Linked DNA regions of Homo sapiens: region 1 is linked to region 2. Evidence: promoter capture Hi-C in human tissues and cell types (Jung and others, 2019). All regions are on one chromosome and are shown on one strand. Each heading gives the region's core, a stretch centred on a gene start or on the middle of the fragment in contact. The rest is flanking DNA. Distances are from core to core; before and after follow the strand shown. Region 1 has its middle 39 kb from the start of TESHL. Region 2 holds the start of IGFBP5 (insulin like growth factor binding protein 5).

What was found. The method cuts DNA at HindIII sites, captures the fragments that hold promoters and counts their contacts. A contact is called where the count stands out against the background at its distance.
Region 1: a contact is called between a fragment that was not itself captured here and the fragment with the promoter of IGFBP5 in region 2, in 3 of the 25 tissues and cell types used here (aorta, bladder and pancreas).

What each region holds. Positions count from the first base shown.
Region 1 is chr2:216,905,939-216,912,827 of GRCh38, forward strand. No RefSeq gene overlaps it. Among named protein-coding and RNA genes, the nearest start is that of TESHL, 39 kb to the left of the region's middle. RefSeq lists a silencer at 3,548-3,842. The HindIII fragment of the contact is 4,829 bases long and covers 1,495-6,323 here.
Region 2 is chr2:216,691,958-216,699,506 of GRCh38, forward strand. It overlaps IGFBP5 (insulin like growth factor binding protein 5), which reads right to left and starts at 3,592. Exons shown (of 4, transcript NM_000599.4): 1 at 2,482-3,592. The coding sequence starts at 2,818. IGFBP-AS1 (IGFBP5 antisense RNA 1) reads left to right here and starts at 2,489. Exons shown (of 6, transcript NR_187138.1): 1 at 2,489-2,804. RefSeq lists a silencer at 6,969-7,048. The HindIII fragment of the contact is 12,405 bases long and covers 1-5,321 here.

The sequences.
Region 1 (6,889 bases), core at 2,659-5,158, 210 kb after region 2:
GGTCCTGAAGTCAGTTAATTTTAAGTTAATCTAAAGGGAAATTATCCTATGTGGGTATTACTTAATCAGGTAAAAGCTCTTCAAAGAGAGACTAGGCCCCAGCTAAGGTAAGAGATTCTCCTTGCTGAGTTGATAAAATCCTCTAGTCAAGCCTCAGATGAGAGTGCAGCCTGGCCAATATCTTTCCTGCAGTCTGGTGAGACCTTGAGCAGGGGACCCAGATAAGCTGTGCCCAGAATCCTGACCCACAGAAGCCATGAGATAATAAATATATGTTTCTTAAGGTGCATAGTTTGTTGTAATTGTTTATGGAGCAAATGGAAAACCAATACAGGTGTTTGGCATAATTGGAAAAAAAAAACTTTGGACTTAAATACATCGAGGCCAAATTCCTAGCTCTACTACTAGCTGTGTCACCACTGATGAATTATTTAAGATGGCTGAACAGTTTTCTCATCTGTAAACAGAAAAACATAACTCTTGCCTTGCATGGGTGGGATGGGGATTGTGAGGAATACAGCTAAGTACATATAAGCTTGCTGTTGGTATGTTCAATGCAGTAAGTTCTCAATAGCTGAAAGCTATTACTCTAATGATCATTAAGATCACCATAGGTATTGAAGTAGATAATAAATAAGACCAGTGGTGTTTCTGAAGGTGCCCTTAATTGAAAAGTTTCCACTTCGTCAACCTTCTTTCCAAATAGAAGGAACCTAAGTGTCCAACAGCTGATGAATGGATCAAGAAAACGTGGTATATAGAGACAGTGGAATACTATTCAGCCATAAAAAAGAATAAAAACATGTCTTTTGCAGCAACGTGGATGGAACTGGAGGCCACTATCTTAACAACACAGAAACAGGAAGTCAAATACTGCATGTTCCCACTTATAAGTGGAAGCTAAATAATGTGTACACGTGGACATAGAGTACAGAATGACAGACATTGGAAACTCAAAAGGGTGGGAAGGTGGGGGGCTTAGGGATGTGAAATTACTTCATGGGTACAACGCACATTATTCAGGCACTGAGTACACTAAAACCTCAGGCTTCACCACTATGCAATATATCCATGTAACAGAATGGCCCTTGGACCCCTTGAATTTATACAAATTTTTAAAATGCAAAGAACAAAGCAAAAAAAAAAAAAAAGGAAGAAATAGCATTCTTTACCCTCCTTAGAAGTGGAACAACCTCGTGCAAAGAAAACTCTCCTCAGAAGGAATCTTGATTAACTTCTATCAACTTGTTTCTAGTTTTCAGCAGGCCTCATGGGGGTAGATTGGGCTTTCTGATGTCCAATTTGAATTCTCTTGTGTTCTTTTATTTTGTTTTGAGAAAGAGTCTCCCTCTGTCACCCAGGCAGGAGCACAGTGGCGTGATCGTAGATTGCCATAGCCTCTAACTCCTGGGCCCAAGCTACTCTCCCGCCTCAGCCTCCTGAGTACCCGGGACTACAGGTGCATGCCACTACATCCAACTAGTTAATTTTTTTTTTTTTTTTTTTTTTTTTTTTTTTTTTTTTGTAGAGACGGGGTCTTACTGTGTTGCCCAGGCTGGTCTCAAATTCCTGGCCTCAAGCTATCCTCTCACCTTGGCCTCACAAAGTATTGGGATTATAGGCATGAGCCACTGCACATGTCCTCTTGTTTTCTAATAGAAAGTTGTTTTTTTTTAATCACTTTTCAGATTCCAAACTGACATAGATTTGGAGTTTTAGCCATTGCAATTATAAATTGCAAAGCAATTTATAGCACACAAGCTGCTTTCTATAAACATCACTTCATGTAATCCTCACCACAGTGCTGTGAAGTAGGCATTATTTTCTTAGCTTTATAAGTGAAGGAATGAAAGCTCACAGAATGTAAATAGCTCATCCAAAGTTCCAAAGCTAAGGAGGTGTAGAAAGGAGAATCAGTTTCAGGTCTGTATCTCCAGTGTGCTGTCTTTCAAACCAGAGAGCTAGTTAAAACAATTACCAGCCCTTAGACCAGCTGCCTGGTCACCATGTCACCCAGACATCTCCCTTTGCACTGTGGGCATATGTGAACCCCCACATGAAGGCTTTGTCATTCCCTAATTATCCAGGTTTGTTACTGATCAGTCATACTCCTGATTTGTCCTAATTGTGTGTGTGTGTATGTGTGTTTGTTTCCCTTAAGAGGAAGGCAAGTTTCCTTAAAAAACAACAACAACAAAAAAAACACATACGGAGTAAGAAAATTTACCAGTTTACTATTAACAAACTTAAAAATTCAAAAAAAAGGGGGATTCTGAGGGAACATGAAAATTTATATGGGACTAGATAATGAATAAATATATTCACTAAAAATATGGCACCCTTACTTAGTGCTCTGCCTTTTTAAAAGACATGATACACATCTTCTTGGTACGGTATATCCACTATTATCCATTCAATTTCCATTTATTTCCCCGTTTGCTAGAACTTTTCAAGCTTTCACTCCCCTGCTGTTTTAATGACAGGCTAGATGGTCATTTTGCTTTGCTTCCTATAATGAGCGAGTTAAAAGGCATGTTTTCTGCATCTGCTCGCCACACAATGGCCAATGTGATTTTACAACTGGGATGCTAAGGCAGTCTGTGGAAACACAGTGGGCCCTGGTCAGTTGGAATGTTTGAATGCTTCGGTTAACTTTTATTGAACTTGCTTGGAGAACTGCATGGGCCTTTCTCAAGCCTCCTCAACACATGTGATTTCAAAGGCTTAGCCCTCTGGAAGTCTTAGCCAGTACCCCCGCACCCATCAATTCCCTTCCTCCTGTAATAGTGATTACTGGTGCTCTTCTCTCTTTCATGACTTCTTTGCAAAACTTTCAACTTTTTCTTAACGATTTTACCTCTTTTACCTATTTCTTGCAAAGACTTACCACCTTTTCTGATTATTCTCAACAGAAGAGCTCACTGGAACACAAGACATCTTGGATGAGGAATATGTAAAACACAGATAGACCCATGTTCTCTAAATTCAAATGCTTCATTAAGGGGAACTGGAGGGTCAGAAACAATTAGTATGTCTTGGCTAGTTATAAAGAAAATTCAGCATTTGATAAAATGCTATAGTTTCCTTAAAATTTAAGTTTTTAAACGGACTTCTAAACTTTCTTTAGCTATTAAAGATTGTTATTGGAATAGCCCACTTTACAAAATTTAGTACAGTTACTTGCAAAAATGTGATATTTTGAGATCTGTAAAAATTCAAAACCAAAGAATTATGATACTTTGAATAGAGAGTAAATGAATAAATCCATAGTTGATCCCATTATGATGTTTATATTCTTATTGGTAAGGAGTAAGTACAAAGCAAAATGCTGGGCTGGATGACTCAGGCTCTGCTAGCTGAACCACACGGGATGGGTCCTTGGAACCTACATAAGTGTGGGTGCTCATCTGCAGAATGAGAGCGTCAGATACCATGATCCCTCTGGATCTGTAACTTGAAGATCTGGGATTTTCAGGAAAAGTTGAACAAAGCTTAGCAGTTGGTTCCAAATTATCTGGCCCTTCCTGCTTTTGTTGCTCACCACATCTGAAAGGTGGCATCCTTAACACTGAGGTCCAAGCCAGCTAAAGGCAGGAGGTCAACTTTGTATGCACAGTCCGTTTCCCCTTCACCTGTTGTTTGGTTGTTTTTGTGCCACGGGTCTTGTGCTCCTTCCTCTGTCCGGCCTCGGAGCTGGGCCTCCCTCACATCAGCACCATTTTGGCTGTAAGCTGCTGGAGCAGCTGCTGCCCGGGAGGGCTCTGCTCATGTCCTGAGCTGACACATGACAACTTCTATTAGGCTGAGGTGCTCCGAGGGAAGCCAGTGGGCTCTACCAGCCATCTCCCTTCTGTTTCCCCATCTGCTGGCTCCCAGGGAGGTGGTGGCAGAACTTAGGTAAAAGAGCACATCCAAAGTGAGGACATGGTGAAGACCTGGAGGGATTGCACTCTCCCTCTTTGTCAGATGTTGCCTGGCAGGGGTGGAACCTGTCCCTTAGGAGAGAATGGGGTGACTCAGACTAGCCTGGCTCATGCTGAGGACGTCCAGTCTGCCTCCCACCATCCCTGCTGGGAGTCCCCACTTGGAAATCATATTTGCAGCTTGGGTTAAACATGACCAGGTGCTCCACAGAGGCAGTGCCAGAGGATTCTTGGCATGGCCTCTGCACTTGTTTGAATGTTGTGGCTTTTAATATTTATCCCAGTTCTTATGTGTGTTTGTGAATGCCCGTGCACATGTGTTGCAGTTCCTTCCCAGGGTCCCCCAGCATAGGGATGTTCCCATCCATCAAACAGGAAGAGCAACAACAGGTTGTAGCGGGGAGCTGGGGCAGACTGCGTGAGGGCAGGGCCTGGGGAGCCTGAGGGGCCAAGCCATGTGTTCTGCTGTTAGTTCATTGGGCTGACAAAGTGGGAGGCTGCTGTGCTGGGACCCCCTCTCTCAGCCAGGGGTCCTATAGATTCCCAGACGCTACAGCTTGAAGGGAGGGGCCTGAGAGGTGATGTGGTTCAATGCTTTTATTTTCTGAAGATGAAAATGAGGCCCAGAGAGGGGCAATGGCTTGTGAAAGACACATCTAATTGTAACAGGAGCTGAACCACCAAAATCTAGGCTGTGAGTGTGCAGGCCCTTAGCTGTCTCCATTGGTGCTCTGGGGTCCAGGAAGAATCTATTGACGAATAAGCCAGCTCAGGCCTCTACATCCTAAGTCAATGCTTATACAATGCTTCCTTCTCCACCAAGAAGGACTCTAAGATTTCTTATGGTTTTGGGACTGTACGTCCCCGTTTCTTTTGATTTGCCCTACTCTAACCCTCTGAAAAGCATGCCAGTTTGGATAATAAATCATATGGTCTCATTATTTAGGATTGTCTCATTTTCTAGAATGCTGCTTCTTTGAACATATATATTCCTGGGCCAAAGAGTTCCTGTGACTGCCAGCTCAAAGCTTCACAGAAGTTCTGATGAGTTCCTGGATGCAGGTGGTGGGAGCTCTAGTGAACACATGTGAACTCAGTTACTCATGACTGGATTTATCCTAACAAAGGAATTCAAAAGCAACTGTCTAGAATTCATTTGCCTCATCTGTAAAATGGCAGAGCTGTAGTGGGTGATTCTAAGGCCCCTGACAACTCAAAAATCTGCATCCACAAATTAATTTCAGGGATCATTCTGCCCCTTGCTATGTTGGTGGTGGTTATCTAGCTTCTGCAGTGAGGTGATTGGGCCCATCTGGATAGTGCCTTAGAGGTTGTGTGTACCAGACGCCTAACATGAGAGATAGTAGCTTTACAGCCAAGATGACAGATGCCTGTCCCTGCCCTTCCTTCTGGTTCCCAAATCACAATCTCTAAGCACCGGGTCTGAGGAGAGCCCAAGGACACATGGGGAGGCCGGACTCCCATTTCCTAGTCCTTACCCTTTGTCCTTCATGTTACCCTGCCTAGTGTGTAAAACCTGGGGCTCCCAGAAGGTAGGGCATGGGCTGTGGGGGAGGATTGCTGACTTCTCAGTATAAGGCTGTTCTCTAGCAGTGCTACCCAAAAAGAGGGGTGACAAAGAGGCCCCCATCTCCTAGGCCCTCAGACCAATTAGATGCCTGATCTTGGGAAAACACAATCTCCCTAGGGAGAGCTTGTTCTTAAAAACATGATGTGTAAATCATGGTTTTGTCTTTCCAAACAGACAAAAGCTACCTCCAGCTACATTTATTGAGAGCTGTGAAATATCATGGGGCCTCATGGAGTGGCAGTTAAGTCAGGTTGCCCAGGTCCAAATCCTAGCTCAACCATTCTAGCCGTGGACCTTTGGTAACGTTCTTTCTTAATCTCCCTCATGCTCATTTGCAAACATCCTTATAGGGCTATTTTGAGGATTAAATGCGATGATTCTTATCACAGGCAGAATACGGTGCCCACAGTGGTGAGTGCTTTGTGATCGTAGTGAATACATTGGACTTTTGGTACTTACAGTCCTTTGATCACTGAAAGGGGCCATGGCTTCAGGAATGATGCATAAACCCATTCTGTGCACTTCAGCAGGCAGGCAGGGTTTGGGCATTGGGTCAATGCAGAAGGAGGAGGAAGAATTCTGCAGTCACTCTGGGGCTGCTGCTCTCATCAGTGAGTCACTAATGGGCATCAGGAGATCCCCTTAGAAGGAGGTGCATGTGCCTGAGCCTCAGGCAAAATTGGCCCTGGTCATGGTTCTCAGGCTCTCTTCTCAATGCCAAGGGGGAGACATCTGGGGAGGTTGTGAAGGACTATCAAGTTCTTATGATTCTGATGTGTTTATGGCAGTGAGTAAAATTCATAGGTCATTTATGAGCTTTGCCTCCCATTTCACACAGCTGGTCCTTTTTAGTCAGGCTGTACATGCTCCAGAAAGAACTCAGCATCAGCACCTGGAGGGGCACCTTCTCCTCCCAGTCCTGGGAGGCTCTGAGAGGGGAGGCCAGGAGAGAAGTGGAGGGTGAGGCTGATAGCCTACCTGTGCAGCACTCGGGCCTACCTCCAATGGCCTGAACCACATTCTTCTCCAGCACATGGTCCTGGGTGAGGAGGGCTAGGGCTAGAATTCATCCACTCTCTGGATGGGGTCCTGAGTCCCAGCACTCTTTGGGACCTAGAGGTTCACCTGTGATATTTTCCTGATGATATCCACAGTTTTAATATAGTCTGGCTCCCTGAAGAGAACCAGTGGTACACACAAGACATTGGGAAGGTAACTGTCCATGGGCTAGGATAAAGAAAGTCAATTCTGGTGGCTCTTGTTCATTGAAGTCTAATAGGATTTAATCCTAGGTTAAAGAAAGGATTTGCTTTACTCAAAACTACTCTAAGGTACTGTGAAACAAAGTTTAAGAATCGTTCACAGCTTAACGTGA
Region 2 (7,549 bases), core at 2,342-4,841:
GTAGGAGGTGTGTTGGGAAGCAGGAATTTTGGCTAAAGGACCAAAAGGGCACTCTCCCTCTCTCTGTCCATTTCTCTCTCCTTAAGAACGGTCTCTACACCATCTCCAACTTTTTGGGGACCCGCCCAGTGGTTGTCCGGCTAAAACGCCCTTTCCAGGAGCGCCCACTCCCATCCCATCTGTTCGGGAAGAAGATGTCGGCACCAGCAGCGGTGGAGCGCCGCCAACCCGCAACAGCAGCCGGCCGGGCACCTGCCTTCGGCGGGGTGGAGTCGGAGAGGAGTGCTGGGGAGGGGGCGGGTAGAAGAGGCGGCTTCGGGTTGGCCCAAAGGCACTCAGAAGGTGGGGGTTGAGCAAGGGGCGGCAGGGAATTCTACAGGGGATCTTGCTTGGGACTGAAGTGTCGTGTGTGTGTGTGTGTGTGTGTGTGTGTGTGTGTGTGTGTGATGCGCCCTCCGTGCTCGCCTAGCAATTGCGCGCGCGTGCGCTCTGCGTGTACACCCTTCACACTAGCCACATCACACTACACGCTTGGTAAATAATAAGTGGAGCCAGGATGCGGCTGAGTGACACCTTACGTTCTTTCGGTGTGACTGGATTGTTACCCAGGGCGGTGGCTCCCAAGCCGGGAAATCAATTAATGTTTTCCTTCTCCGCTAGGCTTTTCCAAATCCACATCCCCCAAGATGAAGGCGGGCAGGACCGCCTTTGAAAAGTGGATCTTAATAAAAATAATCTCACAAGCCGGTCTCTGGGGTTCCCAGAGCCTGCACATCCTCCCCTTTTCCTCTTTTTGCAGGCTGCAACCTGCAAAAAGATCGACTTTTTGCAGGTTTGGAGATCGACTACCTCTTGCAAAGCTAGAGGGGCTGGCCCCTGCGCCACTCAAACCCTGCAGGGTTTGCGGGGACTGAGGCTGAACACAGGAAGCTCTCCGGCCTCCTGGCAAGCGCGGACGCACTCCTCTCCTGCACTATAGTGACTGAAATTTGCACTTCAGAAAACTCATGTTAGGGTGCTCGTGAGTAACGGAAAGGGACAGGGAGGGAGAAGGGGATTGCCCCCGTAACTAAACTGTCTCCGTAACTAAACTACGCCAAATAAACATTGTTTAGCCAAGTTTTAACCCCTTTTGGAGAGAATCAATAGCCAGTTTGACGTCTTAGAACCCAGACTTTTATGTAGTTTATTTAACTTTTTTTTTTTTTAACTAAAGATCAGGTAACTCTTTCCAAAAAGAAACTCAGTCTAAGGGGGTAGAACTGTTCTGATTGAACAAGTAGCTGTGTCAATCATTTCAACCCTAGACTCCTGGCGCCGAGAATTTGGGGGCGGCGCAACCCGGGGGCGGGGCAAGCGGAGGCGAGGCTCCCAGTGCGTGGCTTTTCTGTCTCCGCCCCCTGAATTTTGCATTCTGCGTTTCCAGGGCCCCTCATGCACTTAATCCACACCCACTTGTGATCTGGTTTAAGAGATTGGGGAGGGCGGGGTGGGGGGATTGCGGAGGGAGGAATTGCGGGGCGGGGGTGGAGGTGGTGGTGGTGCCAGGAATCTGCATAGGCGAGGAAGTTGAAAGCTCTGAATCTCACATCCCCTTTTGCCTCCCAGCCCTATGTCCACCTTTCATCCTAGGTAAAATCTGAATTGGAGAGGGGGAAAAGGAATTAGATTCAGAAACGAACACCAGGCACAGAATACCAAACCCTTCCTTTCTACTCTTCCCCACCCCCACCCCGCACCCCCGCACTCCTAAAGTATTTTTTTCCCTTCCTGGGATAAAATAAAAGTCATTTTGCAGTTAAATATGTTTTACCATCTACCACAGGCAATCATCTTCAATAAAAAGCAATGGTTATGCACATGGGAGGGGCTTCAGGGCTCCCACCCGAAAGGCATTAGCTACCAAGGATGTGGGGTGTTTGTGGTGTGTGTGTAGGGGTGGAGGGATAGAAACGTCTGGAGGCACGGGGGTGGAGGGGCCAAGAGGGACAAAGGTGGAATTAGCTCAGAAGATAGGTAATGCCTCTCTCTCCAGGCCGCAATTAAAATAATATTTTAACAAAAGAGATTTTTTTTCCAAGTTCAGAAAAAAACCTATGCGGGGCGCGAGGGGGGTGGAGGAGGGAGTTGATAATGTAACATACACTCTTTCAGACTGTAGATAGGGTACCAGGGGATTTGGACCTTGTGACCGAATAAGAGCTCAGAATCAGTATTCGGACAGAGTAGGGGGAGGGGGCGGGCAACGTGTGGGTAGGAGGAAGGAGAAAGAGCGAAAGCTGGGATAGACTCGGCTAGACAGTTCCCCCGGGTAGCAGGATCCTCCAGGGCTCCAATTCCGGGGTGCAAGGACCCTCCCCGACTACTCCCGAGCTGCACCCCAGCTCGAAGCCACTTGCTGCGCAAAGCGCGCGGGCCCAGCCGGTCTCGTGTCCCCCGCCCGTGCGCCGCGTAACTGACTGGCACACTGAGCGCGCTCACCGATCTTGACTTGCTCGCGGTAGCTCTTTTCGTTGAGGCAAACCCCGCGGCCGTGCAGCAGGGCGTGCAGCGGCTTCTCCTCGTCCTGCCGGGGGAGGCAGCGCAGCCCCTGGGCGCAGCGCTCGGTGTAGACGCCGCACGACTGCCCCTCGGCCAGGGCGCAGGTCATGCAGCAGCCGCAGCCCGGCTCCTTGACCAGCTCGCAGCCCAGGGGGCTGGGGGGGCACATGGAGAGGGCTTTCTCGTCGCAGGGCTCGCAGTGCACGAAGGAGCCCAGGCTCTGGGCCGGCCCCGCATAGGCGGCCAGCAGCAGGAGGACCGCGGTGAGCAACACCATCTTCTCTTAGTCGCCCCCTTTACCTCGGGGTGGGGCAGGAGAGCGAGAGTGCAGGGATAAAGGGGCCAAGAGGGCCCCCGGAGATTTTTTTGTTTTTGTTTTTGTTTTAAAATTTCTGGCAGGTAGAGCAGGTGCCCTCCCCCAGACACTTGCAAAAATGTAGAGAGAGGTGGAGGGCTGGGGTGCCTGCGAGCAGGTCCCAGTTGCAAGAATTAAAGCCTTGCAACAGGTTGGGGGAAGCAGGGCAGCGCCAGGTGCACGCAGTGAGCGGAGGCCGGAGAAACCCTCAAGCCTGAGCGGGTCAGAATTATAGGGGAAAAAAAGCCACAAAATTGTTCACCCCCAAGCAACCACCGAAATAATGAGATCGGATGCAGTGGAGATGGCGTTGGGGGTGGGAGAGAAAAATGGATTTATCTTTAAAATTTTTGCTTAAAATCTAAAATACACCCCGCTTTCTAACCCTCAGCTGCCAGCGGTGCGCGGCGCCGCAGAACAGGTAAGAGGCGTTGGCTGCAGCCGAGAGGGTGGGAGAAAATGTTGAAATCAAGAAATTAAAAAACAAAAACAAAAACAAAAAAACCCCAAACCCTAACACCTCTTTTCTCCCACTTTGCCACCTCCTCTTCGAAATTCGCAGGTTCTACGCGAAGTCCGGAGAAGGGTGAAAACGGAGGAGGGGTAATGAAAAGGAGCAAAAAAGGGAAAAAGCCCACACTGCTTTGCAGCTCTTTCCTAGCTCTTTTCCCCTGCAGAAGTTTCCAAAGAGACTACGGGGCTCCGGGAGAGCAGGCGCTTTTAAATAGCCGGCCCCTGGCTGCCAGCCAGTTTGTAGCTGCAATTTGAGCTTCCCAACACCCAACTCAGGCAAGGATGCCAAGGAGCTTTGCAGTACAAACTCACACGGGGTGGGGGTGGGGAGAGGCCTTCTAGACACAAGGGGGCTCCCCTTCGCTCCCTGAACAGCGCCCTCCTCCCCTCTGAACAGCGCCCTCCTCCCCCCGGAATGTAAGAAAGGGGCAAGGGGGACAGGCTGGGGCTACCGAGAATGGGGAGGAGGTGGAGGGGCCAGTGGAAGACAGAGTTCTTCGGAGCAGGGTGAACACAATGAGGAGAGTAACTTCGTCTCCCCTTCCCTCCTATCCTTTAAGTAGTCAAGGCACAGGCTGAAGGGAGACGTATTTTCTTATTAGCCAACTGGATATACCGTGCCCAAGAAATCTTCCTAAGCTTCTGCAATTGACTGTATGCTGGTGTCTGTTTCCATGTGGGGTGTGTGTGTGTGTGTGTTTGGGGGACAGGTAGTGTAGAATGGCCAGTGATGTCTGGTGAGCTAAATTTAAAAAAGAAGAAAAAATTGAATTTCTCCCCTAAAAGTCTGGAGAAGAGGATTTAATCAGGGGGTTTCAGTACTCATGATGAAGAGGTGACCAGTTGCCTTCAGCTGCGTTGGCCAGGGAGGTTCTCTCTCTCTTTCTCTCTCTCTGTGTGTGTGTGTGTATGTGTGTGTGTTGTGTATCTGCAGGAATGGACATTCATACAACAGCATTATTGAGAGCAGTGAGTTGCAGAGATGGACACTTTGGAGGAAATGCTAAGTCTGAAAACCTTGCATGGTGGCCTAAAGTGTCCTTGTGTGTGGGGTTCTTAGAGGGAAGAAAGGTGGATTGGAGTGACACTTCCCTCTCTGTCACTTTGCAGAGGTATTTCTATTGGGCAGGGCCACATCCCTGGAGGGAGTGGGTGGCAGAGTAGCTGGAGGAGACCTTGTGATAGGTTGACAGGTTAGTTGGTGCTTATAGGCACATCCCAGGAATATGAGCTGACAGGGCCACAGGACCTGCTTGGAAGAGGTCCTGACCAGGAACCGAATCATGCCACTAGAACCTCTTTAATAAAATGAAAGAAAACTAAGGCCTTGAAATAGGAAGGTGGTGGTTTTAGCTTTTTCTGAAATTGACCTGAGTGAGCCATGAGCCTCACAGGCAAGTCAGAGAGAAATGACCAATGTCACTGCCCCTGCTGGGTGGACTTGGTGTGGGCTGTTACACCTTTTACATTGTGCTTCCTCCCTTGAGAAGTATTCTAACTTTCCTTTGGAGAAGGGGCTGCATTTCATGAAGTTTGCCACTAGACTGCACCCTTATCTATGATAAGAATTCTTTCTGGAGGACTGCTTTCAAGAAAATATTTTTTCTTGCTCGTTCAGTTCAGGAGCATCTCACTTTATGCCGTTAACACCCCCAGATCCTGATCTCTCTTCTCACTTATCTATTTGCCGAAAGGCACATTTTAAAACAAGGTTAACGTCTAAAGTTATGTCTTTGCCTGTATTGCCAAAGGGGGTTTAGCCACGTGGTGGCTGGGAGAGGGAGGAGCATTGTGTGTAATGATTAAAACAAAAAATAGCAGCAAGGCTCATCTTAATTTCTTCTTTTCTCAGTCTGAGGGCTTGGTAAGGTAGGAACAAATCAATATTCAAAACTTTGGTGGAAATATTTTAGAAGTGAGGGAAATCATGTGTTATTTTGTCATTTGTGTCAAGTTCAGACTACAAGAGTGGCAGCAGAATGTGTGCAGTATGTTCTCTTCCCTGCTCCTATTTCTTTCTGCACACCCTTAGCAGCTCAGCCTGCCTCAGGCACACTGGTAGCTTTTAAGATGATTGGGGGAAATTGTGGTACTCCTTCCAAAGAAACATGAGTTGCCTCGTTCCAGTCACCCTGTATTCTGAGAGAGATGGCCTCTAGTGACACCTCTTTTTGTGTAGCCGACTTCCAATGGCTGGATAATACAATATGTGAAGACAGGTAAAAGGAGGGGGGATCATTCACAGAAAAGATAAAAAGGGTAGAGAGAAGGGGGGAGGAGAATGTGGTGGGAGCCGGACCCTGGGGCAGAGCAGTACAGGGGCCATGGAGAGAGGTTACTCTGCAAGACTGTAAATGTTAAGCAGCTATTCTTTTTTTTTTTTTTTAATACTTTAAGTTCTAGGGTACATGTGCACAATGTGCAGGTTTGTTACATATGTATACATGTGCTGTGTTGGTGTGCTAAGCAGCCATTCTTTATCTCCACTTAGAAATGGGCTTAGGTTATAAGGGATTCAGACACTGGAGCTGTTGTCCAAGAGACCCTGGGATAGGCTTCCCGAGAGGGCATGAGAGAAAGAAGAATTCTCAGTAGCCTGGGATTGTCTATAGTAATTTCATCCAAAGATGGAGGACTGGCCAGATGGGTGTTGTTTCTGAGTCCATAATTAACATATGACAATGGAGTGGGAAGGTGTTGGTGTTGTTACTGCAGGATACGGGATTATGGAGGATGCCTATGAGCCTTACTTGATTCCATTTTCCCCTTCCCTCCATTCTGGAGGTCTAGATCTGTTCACAATCACCTTTAGAAAATTGCTTGTAGAAAAAAAAAATAGTTTGCATCAACCAGGGTAATTGGGAGGGGATCATTAATTCCTGCCAGATACAAATGTTCCCTTCCTAGAGACCCCCCTGTGCTGCCGGCTTGCTTTCGCTGTCATGGGCTTCCCAACTCTGGCATAGACTAGCTTCTATACCTGTCAACTGCATCTTTTTCGGGGAAGTAGTATTTAAATATCAACCACTTGTGTCCCGTTTCCCCGGAGATCACTCCTCCTCTTTCCTTTAAAAGATTAACTGCTTATCAAAGCCAGCTTTCAAGAAATGCAGCGGAGTGAAAGATTTATGATCTTTTATCTGGATAACTTTTCAAAGGATAGATAGTGTTTTTATTTTATAAAGCTTCGGATGCCTTGCCTGTGGTCATTTCCTGTGAGTTTCTAAGTGATTTTCAAGGATGATGCCTGATAACACAGTTTGGGAAAGCTAGACTTTTTAGTAGGACACAAAGTATTGTGGATTCTACTGGTTAGAATGGAAAAATGTTAGCTAAGGATCTTGTCTTCATTCTCTTTTCTGTGTCACTCTCACCACTCTCAGACAGGCTTATTTATATAATTTATTCAATTTTTAAAGACCTCATGACATTGACTTCAGTCTCTCCCAGAGGCCAACACACATCAAGAATACTAATGCTGCGGCCATGTTGTCCTGGTCCCAAACTAAGGTACAGTGATGTTCAATAAAGAAAGTGCCCCCTTGTTCAGGTCCTTCCCTAGCTCTGGGAGGTTCAGCAAGACTGAAGTCTGTGTTAAAGAGCAGCATGAGGCAACTTTGTTGTAGTGATATTGCTGAAGGCTAGGTGGCAGGATAGATACATCATTAGAAACACGCCTCCTTTCACGAAGGGAAAGAAGCAGATACTGGTAGAGGTGTTTAACAATGGGGATGGGGCAACGGGAGAAGAAAAAGCATGGATGGAAGGACAGGTACGGACACCCTGTGGGTCCACTTATAGGCCACCCCAGCATCGGCACTGCACTGTTGCCCCAATAGCACCAGGCCAGCCTGAGGTGCAAAACCCTCTGTGTCCCACCAGATGCTGTGTTCATGATTACTTTTCTTTGGAGAAAAGGTATGGCCAGGGTAGGAACTTGATGACTTTGGGTTCATCAAAGGGTGTCCTAAACCTTCTCTGAGGAATAATCAGAAGTGATCTTCAGCCACAATTCATAAAAATTCCCCCTGTTAAATTAAAAAAAGGTAATTATGGCACATTTCAAACATTCAAAGAACAGAAGATAATAGAGCATGTGCCCTCCACTCCCTACACTTATTTGACACATGTTCACTTTTT